Linked DNA regions of Homo sapiens: regions 2, 3, 4, 5, 6 and 7 are each linked to region 1. The links are contacts of gene promoters, found by promoter capture Hi-C in blood cells and fetal thymus (Javierre and others, 2016). All regions are on one chromosome and are shown on one strand. The core of a region is centred on a gene start or on the middle of the fragment in contact, and the rest is flanking DNA. Distances in the headings are between cores, read along the strand shown. Region 1 holds the start of POGLUT3 (protein O-glucosyltransferase 3). Region 2 has its middle 9.5 kb from the start of CUL5. Region 3 overlaps CUL5 (cullin 5). Region 4 overlaps CUL5 (cullin 5). Region 5 overlaps CUL5 (cullin 5). Region 6 overlaps ACAT1 (acetyl-CoA acetyltransferase 1). Region 7 has its middle 31 kb from the start of ACAT1.

The links. The method cuts DNA at HindIII sites, captures the fragments that hold promoters and counts their contacts. A CHiCAGO score of 5 or more calls a contact.
Region 2: a contact is called between a fragment that was not itself captured here and the fragment with the promoter of POGLUT3 in region 1, in 4 of 17 cell types (fetal thymus, naive CD8 T cells, non-activated CD4 T cells and 1 more). The highest score is 6.4, in fetal thymus.
Region 3: a fragment that was not itself captured here is called in contact with the fragment with the promoter of POGLUT3 in region 1 in 5 of 17 cell types (total CD4 T cells, fetal thymus, naive CD4 T cells and 2 more); the score reaches 10.8 in total CD4 T cells.
Region 4: a fragment that was not itself captured here is called in contact with the fragment with the promoter of POGLUT3 in region 1 in 5 of 17 cell types (total CD4 T cells, non-activated CD4 T cells, total CD8 T cells and 2 more); the score reaches 8.3 in total CD4 T cells.
Region 5: a fragment that was not itself captured here is called in contact with the fragment with the promoter of POGLUT3 in region 1 in 5 of 17 cell types (total CD4 T cells, non-activated CD4 T cells, naive CD4 T cells and 2 more); the score reaches 7.1 in total CD4 T cells.
Region 6: a fragment that was not itself captured here is called in contact with the fragment with the promoter of POGLUT3 in region 1 in 5 of 17 cell types (naive CD4 T cells, non-activated CD4 T cells, total CD4 T cells and 2 more); the score reaches 8.0 in naive CD4 T cells.
Region 7: a fragment that was not itself captured here is called in contact with the fragment with the promoter of POGLUT3 in region 1 in 4 of 17 cell types (naive CD4 T cells, naive CD8 T cells, total CD4 T cells and 1 more); the score reaches 6.7 in naive CD4 T cells.

What each region holds. Positions count from the first base shown.
Region 1 is chr11:108,497,129-108,499,642 of GRCh38, forward strand. POGLUT3 (protein O-glucosyltransferase 3) reads right to left here and starts at 1,256. Exons shown (of 8, transcript NM_153705.5): 1 at 1,037-1,256. The coding sequence starts at 1,238. LOC112267909 (a long non-coding RNA gene) reads left to right here and starts at 1,933. Exons shown (of 3, transcript XR_007062880.1): 1 at 1,933-2,514. RefSeq lists a silencer at 889-1,408. The HindIII fragment of the contact is 8,220 bases long and covers 1-2,514 here.
Region 2 is chr11:107,998,167-108,000,680 of GRCh38, forward strand. No RefSeq gene overlaps it. Among named protein-coding and RNA genes, the nearest start is that of CUL5, 9.5 kb to the right of the region's middle. The HindIII fragment of the contact is 4,041 bases long and covers 1-2,514 here.
Region 3 is chr11:108,025,589-108,028,102 of GRCh38, forward strand. The region is part of intron 1 of CUL5 (cullin 5); the gene reads left to right. Among named protein-coding and RNA genes, the nearest start is that of CUL5, 18 kb to the left of the region's middle. RefSeq lists an enhancer at 333-432. The HindIII fragment of the contact is 2,762 bases long and covers 1-2,514 here.
Region 4 is chr11:108,058,264-108,060,777 of GRCh38, forward strand. All of the region lies in intron 7 of CUL5 (cullin 5), which reads left to right. Among named protein-coding and RNA genes, the nearest start is that of CUL5, 51 kb to the left of the region's middle. The HindIII fragment of the contact is 1,371 bases long and covers 573-1,943 here.
Region 5 is chr11:108,090,280-108,092,793 of GRCh38, forward strand. All of the region lies in intron 13 of CUL5 (cullin 5), which reads left to right. Among named protein-coding and RNA genes, the nearest start is that of ACAT1, 30 kb to the right of the region's middle. The HindIII fragment of the contact is 5,776 bases long and covers 1-2,514 here.
Region 6 is chr11:108,129,937-108,132,450 of GRCh38, forward strand. It overlaps ACAT1 (acetyl-CoA acetyltransferase 1), which reads left to right. Exons shown (of 12, transcript NM_000019.4): 2 at 1,971-2,018. Among named protein-coding and RNA genes, the nearest start is that of ACAT1, 9.6 kb to the left of the region's middle. The HindIII fragment of the contact is 4,754 bases long and covers 1-2,514 here.
Region 7 is chr11:108,151,625-108,154,138 of GRCh38, forward strand. No RefSeq gene overlaps it. Among named protein-coding and RNA genes, the nearest start is that of ACAT1, 31 kb to the left of the region's middle. The HindIII fragment of the contact is 5,634 bases long and covers 1-2,514 here.

The sequences.
Region 1 (2,514 bases), core at 6-2,505:
GTAAGTTCCTTGATGGTCAGGCATTGTCTTTTCATCCTTAGATTCCCAGCAGAATTACCAAACACAGAAGTAGACATCAAAGAAGTATTTCTTGAATGAATGAAATTTTAAAAATCATTAAATCTAAAAGTGAATTATGTTTGGTTCCTAAATTCTCTGCTTTGCCCAGCTGTCAAGACCCCCTTACCCCTTTCCCAAGTTGGGACACACTTCTGGCAGCTATGTTCCCAGCTGGACTAGCAGGGGCAGAGGCACTGGTTTATTCTAATTGTCTCTTCGCTGATACAACAAGGTGCTAGTTGGCCAGAGCCCCAAATTATACATTAGCAAATCCTGACTGACAACAGCGTGAAACCAGCAGGACAAGTTTTAAGAAGTTGCAAAGGTTAAGACGTGAAGGACAACGTGGGAGGAGGACCGGGCAGAAAGGGATTCAGGACGAGATCCATCTCACCCTCCGTGGAGGGAAAACCGAATGATTTCTACTGAGTTTCCCTAGTTCCTGTAATCTGCTTTCAAAAACTCAGAACTAAAAAGGAAACAAAAAACTAACACGTAAACCCCTCCTCCTTCCTACGGCTCTGACATTTCCTCTGCGTAGGATTTCGTTGCTCCAAACCCACCAGGCCTAAGCCATGTAATCCGACGCGATCCGTCGGCTTGATGACTCACCACTGGAAAGCGCTCCCTGCAATCCCTCACAGTTCAGACAACTAAGTCCGAGATGGAAGGCAACGTGTGACTCACGGCACACTCCTTGTAACGCCCGGGCGCCGTCCATTCGCAACATCAGTCCCTGCACATTAAATGCGGAAGGGCCCTTCAAGTTCATTCATTCATTCATTCCACAAACTTTCGTGGTGATTTTTGCCCGCTTTGAGTATGGGCGGGAGGAGGGAAGAGGAGCTGACCAGACCCAAAAAGGGGCGACACACGCCGGGGAGGGACGCCACGCAGGCCGCGGGCGGACTCCCGGGCGGCGGGGACGCGCGGGGACCCGGCCGCGGGACGAGGGAGGCCGGCGGCTGGACACTACCTGCGGGAGAGCGAGTGAGGTTCTGGCCCTCCGAGTTGACCGCCTGCAGGTAGAAATAGCGGACCGGCAGGACGACGGCCGCCTGCAGCCCGGGCCCCCACACCAGGCTCCGCGGCGCGCTGACCAGCACCTCCGGGGCCCCCGCGGCCACCAGCAGGGCGAGGCGCAGCTGCAGCAGCAGGGCCCGCGGGAGGCGGCGCATGGTCGGCGGGGCACAACTGCGGTCCAGCTCCGCGGCGGCGAGGAGGGGCCGGCAGCGCCGCGGACCGGGCGGGGACTGGGGCCCACCGCGGGGCGGGTCTTTCGGGCGGGAAAGATTGCGGCGCAGGCTCCCTTTCCCGCCCGCTGTCCCGCCTCGTCTCCCTCGGGCGGGAACGCGAGCCAGTGCCGCAATCACCCACTGCGCGCCCTGTAGGGGTCGACGATGGGTGCGCCCCTTCCTCCCCGCAGCCCCATAGGCCCCGTGGAGGAAAGGGGTGGAGAGGCCCGCCCAGAGACCGAGGCTGCGAGTGTGCGCTGGCTGTTGATTGCCAAGGCTTCAGGCACGCCTGGCCTCCACTTCCAGTGGTCTTTCCCTTTCTTTTTCTTCCTTCCTTTCCTTCTTTCTTCTCTTTTCTTTCTCTGTTTTTATACAGACAAGGGGGCTGGCTCTGTCGCCTAGGCTGGAGTGCAATGGCGCGACCACAGCTCACTGCAGCCTGGAACTCGTGGGCTCAGGAGATCCTCCCGCCTCAGCCTCCCGAGTAGCTGGGACTGACTGTAGGCACACGACACCACGCTGGCTAATTTAATTTATTATTATTATTATTATTATTATTATTATTATTATTATTACTATTACTATTTGTAGAGACGGGGTCTCCCTATGTTGCCCAAGGTGGTCTTGAACTCCTGGTTTCAAGCAATCCGCCCGCCTCGGCTTCCCAAAGTGCCGGGATTACAGGCATGAGCCACCGGGTCCGCCGCTCAGGTGTTTTTAAAGGACGTAGACCCGGTGGTGATTGTTGTGGGACGATGAAAGGGTCCGGCCCCAAGATCGATGTAGTTTAGGGAAATATCTTTTCCCAAGGAATGTCTCCGAGTTTACAAGATGAGCGCCAAGGTCACGCCCCCCGCCCTCCCTCACAGCCCTCTGTTCACAGCAGCACCGTTCTCTTGTGGCCGGTTTTGTTGCTTTTCTGCTTAGCAGCCTCCCTCACAGAACCGTGATCCCCCCACCCCACACATCCCTTTCCCCGCTTCCTCCCGCACTCCTCTTCTTCCAGCAGGTGTTTACAGAACATCCACGGAGTTTGGGCCAAGCCCAGAGTGAGGAGCTGGGCACTGGGGTGGCAGAAGACCAGGCCTTGCCTTGAGCCCTTGTGCGAGCTTTACCTCAAAGCCTCTGTAATCGAAGTGGGAGAAGGGGTGGTGGTGCGTGGTTGGTCTCAGCCACCTCCACCACTCCTCAGAAGATGAACGCTGGATCCAGGAAGAGA
Region 2 (2,514 bases), core at 8-2,507, 500 kb before region 1:
CTGGGCCACACAGTGAAACCCCATCTCTACAAAAAAAGCAAAAAATTAGCCAGGATGCTCAGGAAGGCTGAGGTGGGAGGAACGATTGAGCCCAGGAAGCTGAGGTTGCGGTGAGCTGTGATCTCCCCAACTGCACTCTGGCCTGGGCAACAAAGCTAGACCCTCTCTCAAAAAAAAAAAACAAACAAAAAAAAAACCACTTGACCTTTCAAGATGCAATCTACAATACAGCTTTACTACCACAATGTAAATATTTTAAGCCCTGTTTGTTCCCTTATGCATATTCTCAATTGGCTCATAATTAGCATTTCTAATTATATTTTTTGAAATCACCAATATATTTTAGATAGCTGACTAAATTATGGAGCTCAATGGAGCAGAACAACATAAGCAGAATTGATCCTGAGCATTTTGAAGCATGCCTTGGAGACTAACAAAATAAAACAAAATTTAAAAGTGATAGGGGAAGTGGAGGCTAGTAAAAGGAGCAGCAAAATTTAGGTATTAATGTCGATGTGGGCCAGGAGCAGTGGCTCATGCCTATAATCCCAGCAGTTTAGGAGTCCGAGGTAGGTGGATCACTTGAGGTCGGGAGTTCGAGACCAGCCAGGCCAACATGGTGGAACGCTGTCTCTACTAAAAATACAAAAATTAGTTTGGCGTGGTGGCGCACGCCTGTAATCCCAGCTACTAGGGAGGCTGAGGCAGGAGAATTACTTGAACCCTGGAGGCAGAGGTTGCGGTTAGCCAAGATTGCACTGCTGCATTCCAGCCTGGGCAACAGACCAAGACTCTATCTCAAAAAAAAAAAAAAAAAAAAAAGTTGATGTGACCTCATTGCCTAGACTTGTGAAGTCTTGCAGTATTTTGATTTTATAAGTAATAAGTAGTTTACTAAGCAAAAGTATAGCACAATGCATCCTTTATACTATAACTATTAGATAGCTTTGGCACAGCAAAAATACTCTGACAATTTACTTCAGATATGAATCAATTAAGAAATTGAATTTCATGTAAAAAGTAAATCTGTAAATTACATTACTAAAATCTTATTTTCAAATGGTTCATTTTTATCTTGTTAATTGTCTGAACTGAGCATATTTAAAAATAAGTTATGCCAGGCCCGGTGGCTCACGCCTGTAATCCCAGCCCTTTAGGAGTCTGAGGCAGGCAGATCACGAGGTCAGGAGTTCGAGACCAGCCTGACCAACATGGTGAAACCCCATTAGCTGGGCGTGGTGGTGTGCCTGTAATCCCAGTTACTCAGGAGGCTGAGGCAGGAGAATCGCTTGAACCCAGGAGGCAGAGGTTGCAGTGAGCCGAGATTGCGCCATTGCAATCCAGCCTGGGTGACAGAGTGAGACTCCATCTCAAAATAAATAAATAAATAAATAAATAACATAAAAATAAAGTTAGATAAGGCTTTTAAGTAATAGTAGCATAAATAAAAAGTATTATTATAAAATTTAAAAATAAAATTCTAGTTAGATGAAGTCTCCCAAATGATAGCATTAATAAAAAGTGTCATAATTCTCCAACGGCTGCTCATTTTTGTTTCTTCTACTTAGTGCCACTTAGACAAGATAAATTGTTTGTCTTTTCTGGTATTTAAAAAGTGAACAGTTATGGATAATGAAACAAGTATCAGAAGTGTTGGTATATGTGTGTTGTGTACGTGTGTTTCTTTGAGGGTCTGTCTGAAATTCTCCTTAAGCCAAGTCAACCTGATCTCAGGTAGCTCTTGCCAGTGTAGTTAACTGATATTCCACTGGGGGTAGCTGTTGAAATAGAGTTTTGAACACCACCCATCCCAGCTGCTGCAAACCCAACCGTGGCCACTGAGGGGGCACCAAAGTGGGAGGTTAAGGAGCCTGGAGTTGAAAACCTCAGACTTGCATTCTTTCCAAGGAGAGTTTCCAGCGGCTGGAAAATCTATTTACTGACAGAGGAAAGGAGAGGGGTGAGCTTGACTTAGTCACTGGAGCAAACAGGTCTAGAGGATAAGAAAACACATCCAGTAAAAACATCAGAAAACCTAGAACCATCTCAGGTTAACCACCTGCCCCATGTGAAGAGTCAGGGTACATTGTGGGAGCGAGTCCACAGTTGTAGACAGGGGCACAGAGGAACCAGGGTCGGAGGCAGCCACAGGAAAGGTGAAGTGAAGGTTCAGAAGTGAAGGGTCCACCTCACAGGACAAGAGAAGCATGCCCTGAGCATTTTGGTCGCTGTTTTCTTTGATTTTATTCTCTGAAACCATCCTTCAGGCAGGAAAAGCCTTGGATCACAATTTGGAAGACCTGCATCTAGTCCCAGTTACATCCATCAACAACACTAGCTAATACAGTGGAAGATAAACCGGCCCTAAGCAAATCCACAGGGTGCAAGTTGGTCAGCCCATCGGGTTGGTTAAAATATCCATTTGTGGCTGACTGTGGTGACTCCTGCCTATAATCCCAGCACTTTGGGATGCTGAGGTGGGCAGACCACCTGAGGTCAGGGGTTTGAACCAGC
Region 3 (2,514 bases), core at 10-2,509, 470 kb before region 1:
TGTTTCCACTCTGGCTGGTAGCAACACTAACTGTTTCTGGCCCTGTGTGCACTCTGCTGATTGTTCTGCCCATTCCCATTCCTTCCTAATGGTTCTTTCCCCAGTCTCTTACAGTTTTCTCACACCCAGGTACAGGTTAGTACTCAGCCACAGGCCTCAGGGACCTTCTGTATAGATACCCAGAGCTCCCTTGATGCCACAAATTCTAGTCACCTCAGCCTTTTCAAACTCTGAACTCTGCCTCTTAAATGTAGTGAAACCCCTAGCGGCTGTTTGGGTTTCCCCTCCTTGTGATGAGGCCTGGAGACACTCTCTAGGCAGTATGTTTGGACATTTGTAGCGCTCACCTCATTTGTTTTTCTTTTCTCAGGAAGCGCTGTCCTGCACTGCTTTTGGTTTTCTAGTTTGTTTAGGCAGGAGGGAAAATCTGGTTCCTGTTATTCTGTCATGATGGGAAGCAGAAGTCTCTTTCTCTTTTCACCTTGAAGTCCATTTTCTCCGCCTTACCCAACATAAATTCTCTTCTCAATCATTATAGTTGTTCCCTTCAATACACTTTTTGCTTCCTTGCCCCTGTCTTGTTCTGCTTGGGAAAAGTGTACAACCCTGGTTAAATCTGTCTCTTCACTTTTCAGTGCCAGTACCTGTGCAGCTGAATGTCACTCGAGAAAAAGACACAACCGTGCTATTTGCACCTTAAATCCATGACCACAATGAGGCCAGTCATACTGCATTTCCAGAGTCACTTATTCTTCCACTTTCCTAGATGTATTTTTCACATCTTTTCTGTCAACATTCTAACATTTCCTCCCCGATCTTCTCAGACATTGTCGTTATTTCCACATCACTGGGAAATTAAAGCAATAAAATATGAACTTCTCAGAGTCGTACGACATCTATCCTTGTACCAGCACCTACATGTACATTCTTTTGCCTTCTCCTCTTAGCCTGTAGTCACTTCCTCCACATATGCGCTAGATCCCATTCCCTCTTGCCTATCCAGTGCAATTTAAATTCACTAGCAGTTTCTCTCCCTTTCCCCACATCATCAACATTTCATATCCTGGAATGTTCCTGTCAGCATACAATCATACTGTATCCTAGCTTTAAAAAATTATTTGGCCAGGCGCAGTGGCTCACGTTTGTAATCCCAGCACTTTGGGAGGCTGAGGTGGGCGGATCACGAGGTCAGGAGTTCGAGACCACCCTGGCCAATGTGGCGAAACCCCATCTCTACTAAAAATAGAAAAATTGGCTGGGCATGGTGGCGGGCACCTGTATTCCCAGCTACTCGGGAGGCTGAGGCAGGAAAACCACTTGAACTTGGGAGGCGGAGGTTGCAGTGAGCAGAGATCACGCCACTGCACTCCAGCCTGAAAGACAGAGTGAGACTCCGTCTCAAAAAAAAAAAAAAAAAAATTATTATTTTTTCACTTCCTCTCACCCTATCAATTACCATGCCATTTCTTTACTCTCTTATACAGGAAAAATTGTGAAGGGTTGTCTGTACTCTTTCTAGTTTTCTTCTTATTTATTTTTGTTTTTATTTACTATTTGTTTTTTGAGATAGGGTCTCACTGTCGCTGTCGCCTAGGCTGGAGTGCAGTGGCGCCATCATGGCTCACTGCAACCTCCGCCTCCAGGCCTTAGTAGCTGGGATTATAGGCGCCACCATGCCCAGCTAATTTTTTTTTTTTTTCTTTGAGACAGTCTCCCCCTGCTGTCCAGGCTGGAGTGCAGTGGCACAATCTTGGCTCACTGCAAACTCCGCCTCCCAGGTTCAAGCAATTCTCCCACCTCAGCCTCCTGAGTAGCCGGGATTACTGGGGCCTACCACCACACCCAGCTGATTTTTGTATTTTCAGTAGAGACAGGGTTTCACCATGTAGGTCAGGCTGGTCTCGAACTCCTGATGTCAAGTCATCCACCCACCCCGGCCTCCCAAAGTGCTGGGATTACATGTGTGAGCCACCGTGCCCAGCCAAATTTTTTGTATTTTTAGTAGAGACAGGCTTTTTCCATGTTGCCCAGGCTGGTCTCGAACTCCTGGGCTCAAGTGACCCGCCCGCCTCAGCCTCCCAGTGTTGGGATTACAAGCATGAACTATTGCGCCTGGCTCCTCGTTTCTCTTAATTCCACTCTTCATTCCACTCTAATCTGGTATTTGTCCTTACTACTCTGCAAAAACTTCTGTGGACAAAGTTTCAGTAACTTCCATATTGCTGTTTCAGTGGTTATCTTACCTGATCTGTCAGGAGAAATTCTTAAAATTGATTATTCTGTCTTTCTGACACACTTTATTTACTTTTTGTCCAGAATACCATACTCTTGGTTTTCTTGCCACCTGTGCTCTGGTTGCTCTCTTTGTCTCCTTTGCTAGTTCTTACTCCTCTCTCCGCCTCTTAATGTTGGATATCTAAAACCTCAGGCTTGGGTCTCCATCTTTATGTATCACTTCTCTCACAGTGATCTCATCCAATAACAGGTTTTAAAACCCATCTGTATTCTGATGAC
Region 4 (2,514 bases), core at 8-2,507, 440 kb before region 1:
TTTGAAACATAGCCCTGATGTGTCACCCAGGCTAGAGTGCAGTAGTGCAGTCTCCGCTCACTGCAACCTCTGCTTCCCAGGTTCATGTGATTCTCATGCCTCAGCCTCCCGAGTAGCTGGGACTACAGGTGCCCACCACCACACCCGGCTAATTTTTTGTATTTTTAGTAGAGACAGGGTTTCACCGTGTTAGCCAGGATGGTCTTGATCTCCTGACTTCGTGATCTGCCCGCGGCGGCCTCCCAAAGTGCTGGGATTACAGACGTGAGCCACTGCACCCGGCCCAAAGTGATTTTTTTTTTTTTAAATGAAGTAAGAGTAATACTATAGAGTGTATTGGTGGTGGTAATGCTTCTCCTGCTGCTTTTACTTTATGGAATATGGTCAGAAAAGATCTCTGAGGGAATGATATTGGAGTTAAGACCTGAATGATAGGGAACTAGCCTTGTGAAGATCTGAGACAGTTAAGTGTTGCATTAGATGTCTGAAGCCCTACTCTTACAGTTTTATTTTTACTTATAGGAGAGCCACTTAGACCCTACTTAGATCTGATTTTACATACAATTCTAATAAGCTTGATTATCACTCGCTGGGCCTATAGCAGATGAACAGAAATGTATTGAATGTATTTAATGTAAAACAAGGTAAGAGGCTTCCGAGCTGTGCTGCTGAACAGGCATGTTGACAGCAAAAAGTAACACAACCATAAGAAAAGAGCAAGAAAAAAAATTAAGCCAAATGCCTTTTGTGTTTTAAGAGGCAGAGTCTCGCTATGTTGCCCAGGCTGGAGTGCAGTGGCTGTTCACAGGTTTGATCATAGTGCACTGCATTCTCGAATTCCTGGCCTTCAGCAGTCTTCCCACCTCAGCCTCCTGAGTTGCTGGGACAGTAGGCGCATGCAACCACACCCAGCTTTAAGCCAAAATGACTTAAAATTTGTGTTTGGTTTTTAGTTTTTAGGTGATAGTCCTGCATACCTTAGTATTTCCTGGGGAAATTCAATTAGTATTTATTATATACCCACAGTGTGTCAGGCATTATGCTAGTTGGGGATAATAAGATAGACCTAGTCCCTATCCTCAGGATGACACTAGAATAAAATGGATTGTTTATACAATAGAGGAATAGAAAAGTGAATTGGTAGTGTAAGTCTTGATCACTTCAGAATGACCAGGGCACCGATAGGGAGGGAGTGTATTACAGTGGTTAGGGTCATACATGTTGGAATTAGATGAGGATTTGAATCCCACAGATGTTATTTTACCAGCTGTCTGCGTTTTGGCAAGTTATTCAACCTTTGTAGTCTCTCTTTTCCTAACTATAAAATGGAATAGGCCGGGCGCGGTGGCTCACGCCTGCAATCCCAGCACTTAGGGAGGCCGAGATGGGTGGATCATGAGGTCAGGAGTTCAAGACCAGCCTGGCCAACACGGTGAAACCCTGTCTCTACTAAAAAAAAAATACAAAAAAATTAGTTGGGCGTGGTGGCACGCACCTGTAATCTCAGCTACTCGGGAGGCTGAGGCAGGAGAATCGCTTGAACCCAGGAGGCGGAGGTTGCAGTAAGGAGAGATCACACCATTGCGCTCCAGCCTGGGTGACAGAGCGAGACTCTGTCTAAAAAAAAAAAAAAAATTGAATAATACCCTTTTGTATTAGCAGAATTAAATGAAATATGTTACATTAAGCATTTGAGCACTGTGCCTGGCATGATAGCTTTTACTGTTAGGCACTGGTTCAGAGAAAACTGCTTACTAATTCTAAGACAAGTAAAAACTATTTTACCATCTGTGCAAAACTGATTTAAAAAGCTGAATAAGCAACTAGGTCACAAGTTATAAATTATTAACATTAAAATAAGCACTTATTAACCTTCAGTATTTTGGTATTTCAGGCATGGTATCCTCTCCACAGAGGAGGTCTAAAATTAAAAAAAAAAATTAAGCTTGGTGTTCAAAAAGACAAGGTGATCCAGACTTTTGTAGTGCCACTAATGATAGTAGTACAGAAAGAATCTTAGTCAAACTAGAAAGGCCAGGAAATTAATTATTGAATACATTACAGATATCCTTGTATGGTTAAGGGCCTGATAATGATAGAGTAGAATCATAAAGTGGGGGAACTTAAGATAATTTTTAGTTCAACTCTTACGTTGTAGCTGAGGCAAAGCAAACTATTCCTTATACAGAGCTATATAACTAATGAAAATCAGAAATGCTTTTTTTTTTAAACGAAATTTGAGCGAGGTAGAAATAATTATGCAAATTGAATACCACTAAAAGAAGAATCTGGCTGGATGCCGTGGCCCACGCCTCTAATCCCAGCACTTTAGGAGGCCGAGGCGGGTGGATCACCTGAGGTCAGGAGTTCAAGACCAGCCTGGCTAACATGGTAAAGCCCTGTTTCTACTAAAAATACAAAAAATTACCCGGGCATGGTGGTGCGTGCCTGTAATCTCAGCTACTCGGGAGGCTGAGGCAGGAGAATCGCTTGAACCCGGGAGGCGGAGGTTGC
Region 5 (2,514 bases), core at 5-2,504, 410 kb before region 1:
AGATCGAGACCATCCTGGCTAACACAGTGAAACCCAGTCTCTATTAAAAATACAAAAAAATTAACGAGGCGTGGTGGTGGGGGGCCTGTAGTCCCAGCTACTTGGGAGGCTGAGGCAGGAGAATGGCATGAACCCTGGGGGGCGGAGCTTGCAGTGAGCTGAAATCGAGCCACTGAACTCCAGCCTGGGTGACAGAGCAAGACTCCATCTCAAGAAAAATAAAATAAATAAATAGACTGCAGGACAAATTATTATATCTTTAAGGTATTTTCAGTACTAAATGCTTAACTTTAGAGATGTTTATAAATGATAACAATAAATACTTCTGTATAGCAAAAAGAACCTTTAAATGATGGCCTATTTAGGGTAATCAATGCTGATTATAACTAAATTCCCATATAAAGTATTTTGAGTTCTTTTTTTGTTTTAATTATTAAAGTAAATATCTTTAATTTCTGTGTATGTATATAACTCTCTCCACATATATATGGAGAGAGAGAGAGTGCGAGCAAGCACACACGAGAGAGACCTACAGATATTTTAACTTATAGCTAGCCCTTCGCATGGAACTTTAGGATAGTAAAAATTACTGTGCTAACTGAAACTGCTTAGTAGGAAAAAGAATGATTATTCTGTGACTTTTTAAAACTATTGTCAAAAGACTCAAAACTCTTACTGTCACTTATAAGTATATAGGAAAAAGGGGAAAATAGCAAAACTAATACATATTTACTACGAGAAACCTTTAGAATTAAATTTTCTTTCTTTCTTTCTTTTTTTCTTTTTTTTGGAGATGTAGTCTTGCTGTGTTACCCAGGCTGGATTGCAGTGGTGCAATCTTGACTCACTGAAACCTCTGTCTCCCAGATTCAAGCAATTCTCCTGTCTCAGCCTCCTAAGTAGCTGGGACTACAGGTTTGTGCCATGACGCCTGGCTAATTTTTGTATTTTTAGTAGAGACACGGTTTTGCATGTTGGCCAGGCTGGTCTTGAAATCCTGGTCTTAAGTGATCCGCCTGCCTCGGCCTCCCAAAGTACTGAGATTACAGGCGTGAGCCACCACACCCGGCCTATGTTATTTCTTTGTTAAAAAAAAAATATCAAGACCCAACAGTAAAATGACAAACAAGGCTAGGCATGGTGGCTCACACCTGTAATCCCAGCACTTTGGGAGGCTGAGGAGGGCAGATGGCTTGTGCTCAGAGTTTGAGATGAGCCTGGGCAACGTGGTGAAACCCCATCTCTACAAAAATTTAAAAAATTAGCTGGGTGTGATGGCATGCACCTTAGTCCCAGCTGCTTGGGAGGCTGAGGTGGGAGGATCGCCTGAGCCTGTGAGGTGGAGGTTGCATTGAACAGAGATCTTACCACTGTACTCCTGCCTGAGCAACAGAGTCAGATCCTGTCTCTCTCACTCACACACACACACACACACACACACACACACACACACGACAAATAATTAAAAGCAGGCAAAGGATTCGAATTGACATCTCTTCACAGAAGATAGACAGATGGCCAATAAGTGCATGCAAAGATACTCAACATCATTAGTCATTAGTGAAATGCAAGTGAAATGCTCAACATGTTGGCTCCTGCTTATCCCAAATATTTTGAAAGGCTGAGGTGGGAGGATTGCATGAAGCCAGGAGTTAGAAACTACCCTGGGCAAAATAACAATACTCCATGTCTACAAAAAATACAGAAATCAGCTAGGCATGGTGATGTGTGCCTGTGGTTCTAGCTACTCAGGAGGCTGAGATGGGATGATTGCTTGAGCCCAGAAGTTCAAAGTTGTAATGAGCTGAGATTGTGCCACTGCACTGCAGCCTGGGCAACAGAGTGAGACCCTTTCTCAAAAACAAAAAAAACACAAAGAGATACTACTTTATTCCCACTAGGGTAGCTAAAATAAAGACAGATGATAACAAATGCTAGTAAGGAAGAGGAGAAATTGGAACCTTCGTAAGTTGCTAGTGGAGACATAAGATGGTGCAGACACTTTGGAAAACTGTTGGGCAGTTCCTTAAAATGTTGAACGTAGAGCTGACCCAGCAATTTCACTCTTAGGTAATTCATTTGAAGAGAAATGAAAACATGTTTCATGTAAAAACTTGTAAACAAATGTTCATGGCAAGATTACTAATAATAGTCAAAAAGTGGAAACAACCCAAAATGTCAGTGAGCTAATGAATAAAATGTGATTTATCCATACAATGGAATATTTTTTGTGATAAAAAGGAATAAACTAATAATACATGCTGCAATATTAGGTGAACTTTGAAAACATAATGCTGAGTGAAAGAAGCCAATCCCAAAGACCATATCGTATGATTCCACTAATGTGAAGTGTCCAGAATAGGCAAATCCACAAATTCCAGGAGTTGGGGCCAGGAGGGGAAATGACGAGTGACTGTAAATAGTATGGGGTTTCTTTTTGGGGTGATGAAAATGTTCTAAAATTAGATAGTGGTGATGGTTGCACAGTTCTGTAGATATACTAAACTTCATTAC
Region 6 (2,514 bases), core at 7-2,506, 370 kb before region 1:
TATGAAAATTTTCAAACAAAATAAATTGCAACTGACCCTGCCAGAACCCAAGCTAGAAAATCACTAACCAAAGCCATCTTTTGCCTCTTGTGGTGTGCCATGGTCTATTTCTCCTGTCTCTGAGTATATATGTTGCATTCTTTTGCTTCTCAGTGTATTCATGGCTTTTCTCTTTGTTCTAACCGCTGCTTTTCTGTGGCATTGGCTGGTCAGCTCCAGCCCCTTTTGACTTTTCAGTCCCAGTCCCCACCGTCATCCAACTGACCCAGTCTCTCTGGGTCCTAGCTTGGGTGAGTCCATTCCATTCTTGATCCCATCAGCTCTGGCCAGAGGCAGGGGAGTCACCTTGTAAGTACTTAGGGTTGTCCTTTGAGAAAGACATGTGTTTGGAGAGGCAGTGACCGGCATGTTTACTACAAGTAGGAACTTTTTTTTTTGTAAGTTTTTAAATTATTATTTTTTAAATTTATTATCATTTTTTGAGACTCGCTCTGTCGCCCAGGCTGGAGTACAGTGGCGTGATCTTGGCTCACTGCAAGCTCTGCCTCCCAGGTTCAAGTGATTCTCCTGCCTCAGACTCCTGAGTAGCTGGGCTTACATGCATGGACCACCACACCCAGCTAACTTTTATATTTCTAGTAGAGACGGGGTTTGACCATGTTGGTCAGGCTGGTCTTGAACTCCTGTCCTCATGATCCACCCGCCTCGGCCTCCAAAGTGCTGGGATTACAGGCATGAGCCACTGCGCCCAGCTACTGATAGTCTAATTTCAGATCAGTAGGTCTCTGAATTGTGTCCTGCGTTGTCAGAATTAATTAATTAATCTATTTATTATGGAGTTTCACTCTTGTCTCCCAGGCTGGAGTGCAGTGGCGTGATCTTGGCTCACTGCAACCTCCGCCTCCTGGGTTCAAGCAATTCTTCTGCCTCATCCTCCTGAGTGGCTGGGATTACAGGTGCCCGCTACCACGCCTGGCTAATTTTTGTATTTTTAGTAGAGACGGGGTTTTTTCGCCAAGTTGGCCAGGCTGATCTCTAACTCCTGACCTCCAGTGATATGCCCACCGCAGCCTTCCAAAGTGTTGGGATTACAGGCGTGAGCCACTTGCCCAGCCTACTGTTGACATTTGTTCCTAAGAAGTGTGGAAAGAACTGAGAAGTAGTAGGGGCAAGATGTTTACTCTTTCCTTTTTTAAGAAATAATTTATCTGCTATTATAGGTCATATTTATATGAGATGTGTTTGCCTCATATAAATCAGACAATTGTTGGAAGTGGATAGGGAGAAACAGCAAGTTTTACTTGAAAACAATCTTAAAAAATGAAAATATCTTGTTAGATTCTAAGACTAAATAATTTAGAACCTAGCTTTAACTCAAAACTACATTTTAGAAAGCTATATTTAAGAAAGACTTGGAATTTTTTTTTTTTTTTTTTAGACAGTCTTGCTTTGTTGCCAAGGCTGGAGTGTAGTCCCAGAATCTTGGCTCACTGCAACCTCCGCCTCCTGGGTTCAAGCTATTCTCCTGCCTCAGCCTCTGAAGTAGCTGGGATTATAGGCATGTGCCACAATGCTGGGCTAACTTTTGTATTTTTAGTAGAGACTGGGTCTCACCACGTTGTCCAGGCTGGTCTTGAACTCCTGACCTCAGGTGATCCGTCCACCTTGGCCTCCCAAAATGCTAGGATTACAGGCATGAGCCACCACGCCTGGCCAAGACTTGGAAATTTTAAGATAGTAAACTTAAGAGTTAAAACGTACATTTCCAATGAATAGTTAATTAGAAAAGTTTATTATAAAGCAGTCATTTTTTTCTAATTGTTAAAAGTGATATATTCTGACCACAAAAAACTTGGAAATAAAAGCATAAGGATGCAGGAAGAAACCACTATAACCTTATCACTGAGAAATATAAAATGATATAGTTTAATATTTTTTACATTATAACATTATAAATATTTATATTACAGGAAATAAGATATGTGGAACGGAGTTATGTATCAAAACCCACTTTGAAGGTAAGTAATTTAAATTGTGCTTTAAAATTTCCAGAATTTAAAGGAAATGTCAATAAAAATGCATATACTTATGATTTGGATACATGTGAAAGTCAAAGCAGGATTATGTAACAGTTAGGAATAGCTAACTATTCAAATATTCAGTTAAAGTAGATGACTATAATAGAAAAACATGTCAGTTAGTCTCTGCCAATGTTTGTTGCTTCCTTATAGTCTGCTACAAAACAACATTCCCTCTAGAACTGGGCAGTGTTCTTCTTTTACTCACAGGGACTCGCATTGTATTGTGTGTGGTACAAGCAGAGACTGTATAGAAGATCCTAGAAGAGAGGGAGTGGACCAGTTGGGAATTAGACAAGGAGGGCCATTACAGCATCTCCTAGGACCTTCTGAAGAGTCTCTGTTTTGTAAGGGTCACTAAAGTGACTTAGTTAAGATCTTCTATCAAAATCTAAGCAACCATTCTGTTATTTATCTCTAAACTTAATAGGAGATT
Region 7 (2,514 bases), core at 11-2,510, 350 kb before region 1:
CTGTCTCAAAAAAAAAAAAAAAAAAAAAAAAAAAAAAAAAAAGTAAAAAGGGTTGCATGTATCATAAATTATGAGAAGGCAGAAACTGTTAAAATGGGGAAAGAACTACTTTTTATGATGGTCTACTTTGTACTTTTTTTTTTGGCAGAAAAAAAGCCAAAGCTATGACCAAGATAATAATGTTTCATGGATTAAACAAACACTTGTGAAAAAAGTATTAAAGCAAAGACAGGATTCAAACAGTATAAGACTGAATACATATCAAACTTTACCTTTCTAAACAATACCTATTTCTTTTTTAACTTTTTTTTTGAGATAGGGTCTTGCTCTGTTGCCCAGGTTGTAGTGCAGTGGCATGGTCTCATCTCACTGCAGCCTTGACTTCCTGGGCTCAAGTGATACACCCACCTCAGCCTCCCTGGTAGCTAGGACCACAGGTGCATACTACCATGCCTGGCTAATTTTTGGTAGAGATGGGGGTTTCATCATGTTGCCCAGGTTGGTCTCGAACTCCTGGGCTCAAGTGATCTGCCTGCCTTGGCCTCCCAAAGTGCTGGGATTACAGGTGTGAGCCACCATGCCCAGCCAACATTACCTATTTCTAAGCCCCCGTGCAACATTTATAAAACCTGCAACTTATCCTGACCACAATAATAAAAATTTTAGGCAAAAAAGAGCCTGGTATCATTTATTGTAAATAGTTATGTATGAATATTAAAAGTACTTACCCAAATTTTGCTGAAAGTTGAAATCAGAAGCAAATTCACAGCCTTAAATGCTTACATGGTTTAAGAAGGGGAAAAAAAAATCAGATAACTGTTTATTAATTTAAGTTAAATAAACATGCAAAAAGGACCCTGAGAAAGTAGGAAGCACAAAGAATAGGCTCCTATACAACTGTTGAATCTAAGAAGTGTTTTTGACAGAAAAAAGTTAATTGTATCTTAGAGAACAAAAGCCAAAATTAAAAAAAATGTGATATTTGACTCAGGAAAAAAAAGGTCAAAGCCTGAATAGATAATCAGCCAGGAAGAAATTTAGGAGAAAAAAAAATGGAAAACTGCTTAAGCAAAAGGCTCCAGGCCTAGATAATTTAGTAGTGATTTAGTCTCAAGGAACAGTTATTTCTCATTCTAAATAAACTGTTGCAGAAAAAAGAAATAAAAAACAGCATCAGCTATAATAGCAACTAGTTCTTAAAGTGCTTATTATGTTCCAGGCATTAATCTAAGTGCTTTTACATATATTGTACAATTTAAACTTCACACTTTAGCACTGGTACTATTTATTATCCCCAATATTCAAATAAACTAGAAAAAGAAGGAAAGGTTTAAAATTCATTTTAAAAACTGGCATAAGTTTGAAACCAATCTCATTAAAAGTAAACTTTTCATTGGGTGTGTTGGTGTGCACTTGTAGTCCCAGCTACTCATGAAGTTGAGGCAGGAGGATCCTTTGAGCCCAGTAGTTCAAGGCTATAGTGGGCTATGACTGTGCCCATGAACAGCCACTGCACTCTAGCCTGGGCAATATAGCAAGACCTTGTCTCAAAAACAAAAACCAAAAACATTTAAATAAAATATTCACAAAGCAAACTTACTTAAAATAATCACTAATATAAAAAGAAATTCATGAGTTCAATGAAAATATTTTAATTGATGCTTAAACGTGGCAATTAAGTTGAACAGGTACTTCTGATGTAAAATCGTAAAACTCTACCAACAAAAGCAAACATTATACTTAATAAAAGCAAACATTATACCTAACATTGCCATTAAAATGGGGAACAAGACAATGAAGCAGACTTTGATCATTATTAGTTGCACTGGAAGTGCTAATATCAGTGTAGTAAAAATAAATAAAATTGGAAAATAATTATTTACAGATAATACTTCACAAATTAAAAAGTAGCACTGGTAAATCCATTAGTACTAACAGACTTCACTCAGTATAGAAAATAAATAGAACTAAAATATAAAAGATTTTGGGACTGGCACAGTGGCTCACGCCTGTAATCCCAGCACCTCGGGAGGCTGAGGTGGGTGAATCACCTGAGGTCAGGAGTTCAAGACCAGCCTGGACAATATGGTGAAACCCTGTCTCTACTAAAAATACAAAAATTAACTGGGTGTGGTGGCGCACAACTGTAATCCCAGCTACTGAGGAGGCTCAGGAAGGAGAATTGCTTGAACCTGGGAGGCGGAGGTTACAGTCACCAGAGATGACACCAATGCCCTCTGGCCTGGGCGACAGAGTGAGACTATCTCAAAAAAAAAAAAAAAAAGATTTTCAACATTAATTAAGACAGTGTGTTATTAGCACATCTTAAAGAAAGCAGACCAATGGAACAGCATAGAGTCCAGAAACAAACCTACACATTTACCAGCTTATGAGAAAAGTAACTGTGCAATGTAGTTGGGAAAGGATAATCTTTGGTAATAAATAGTGTGGGTTAATTGTATATCAATGTGGAAAATCAATTCCAGATAGATGGTCAAATCAAAATGAAATAGG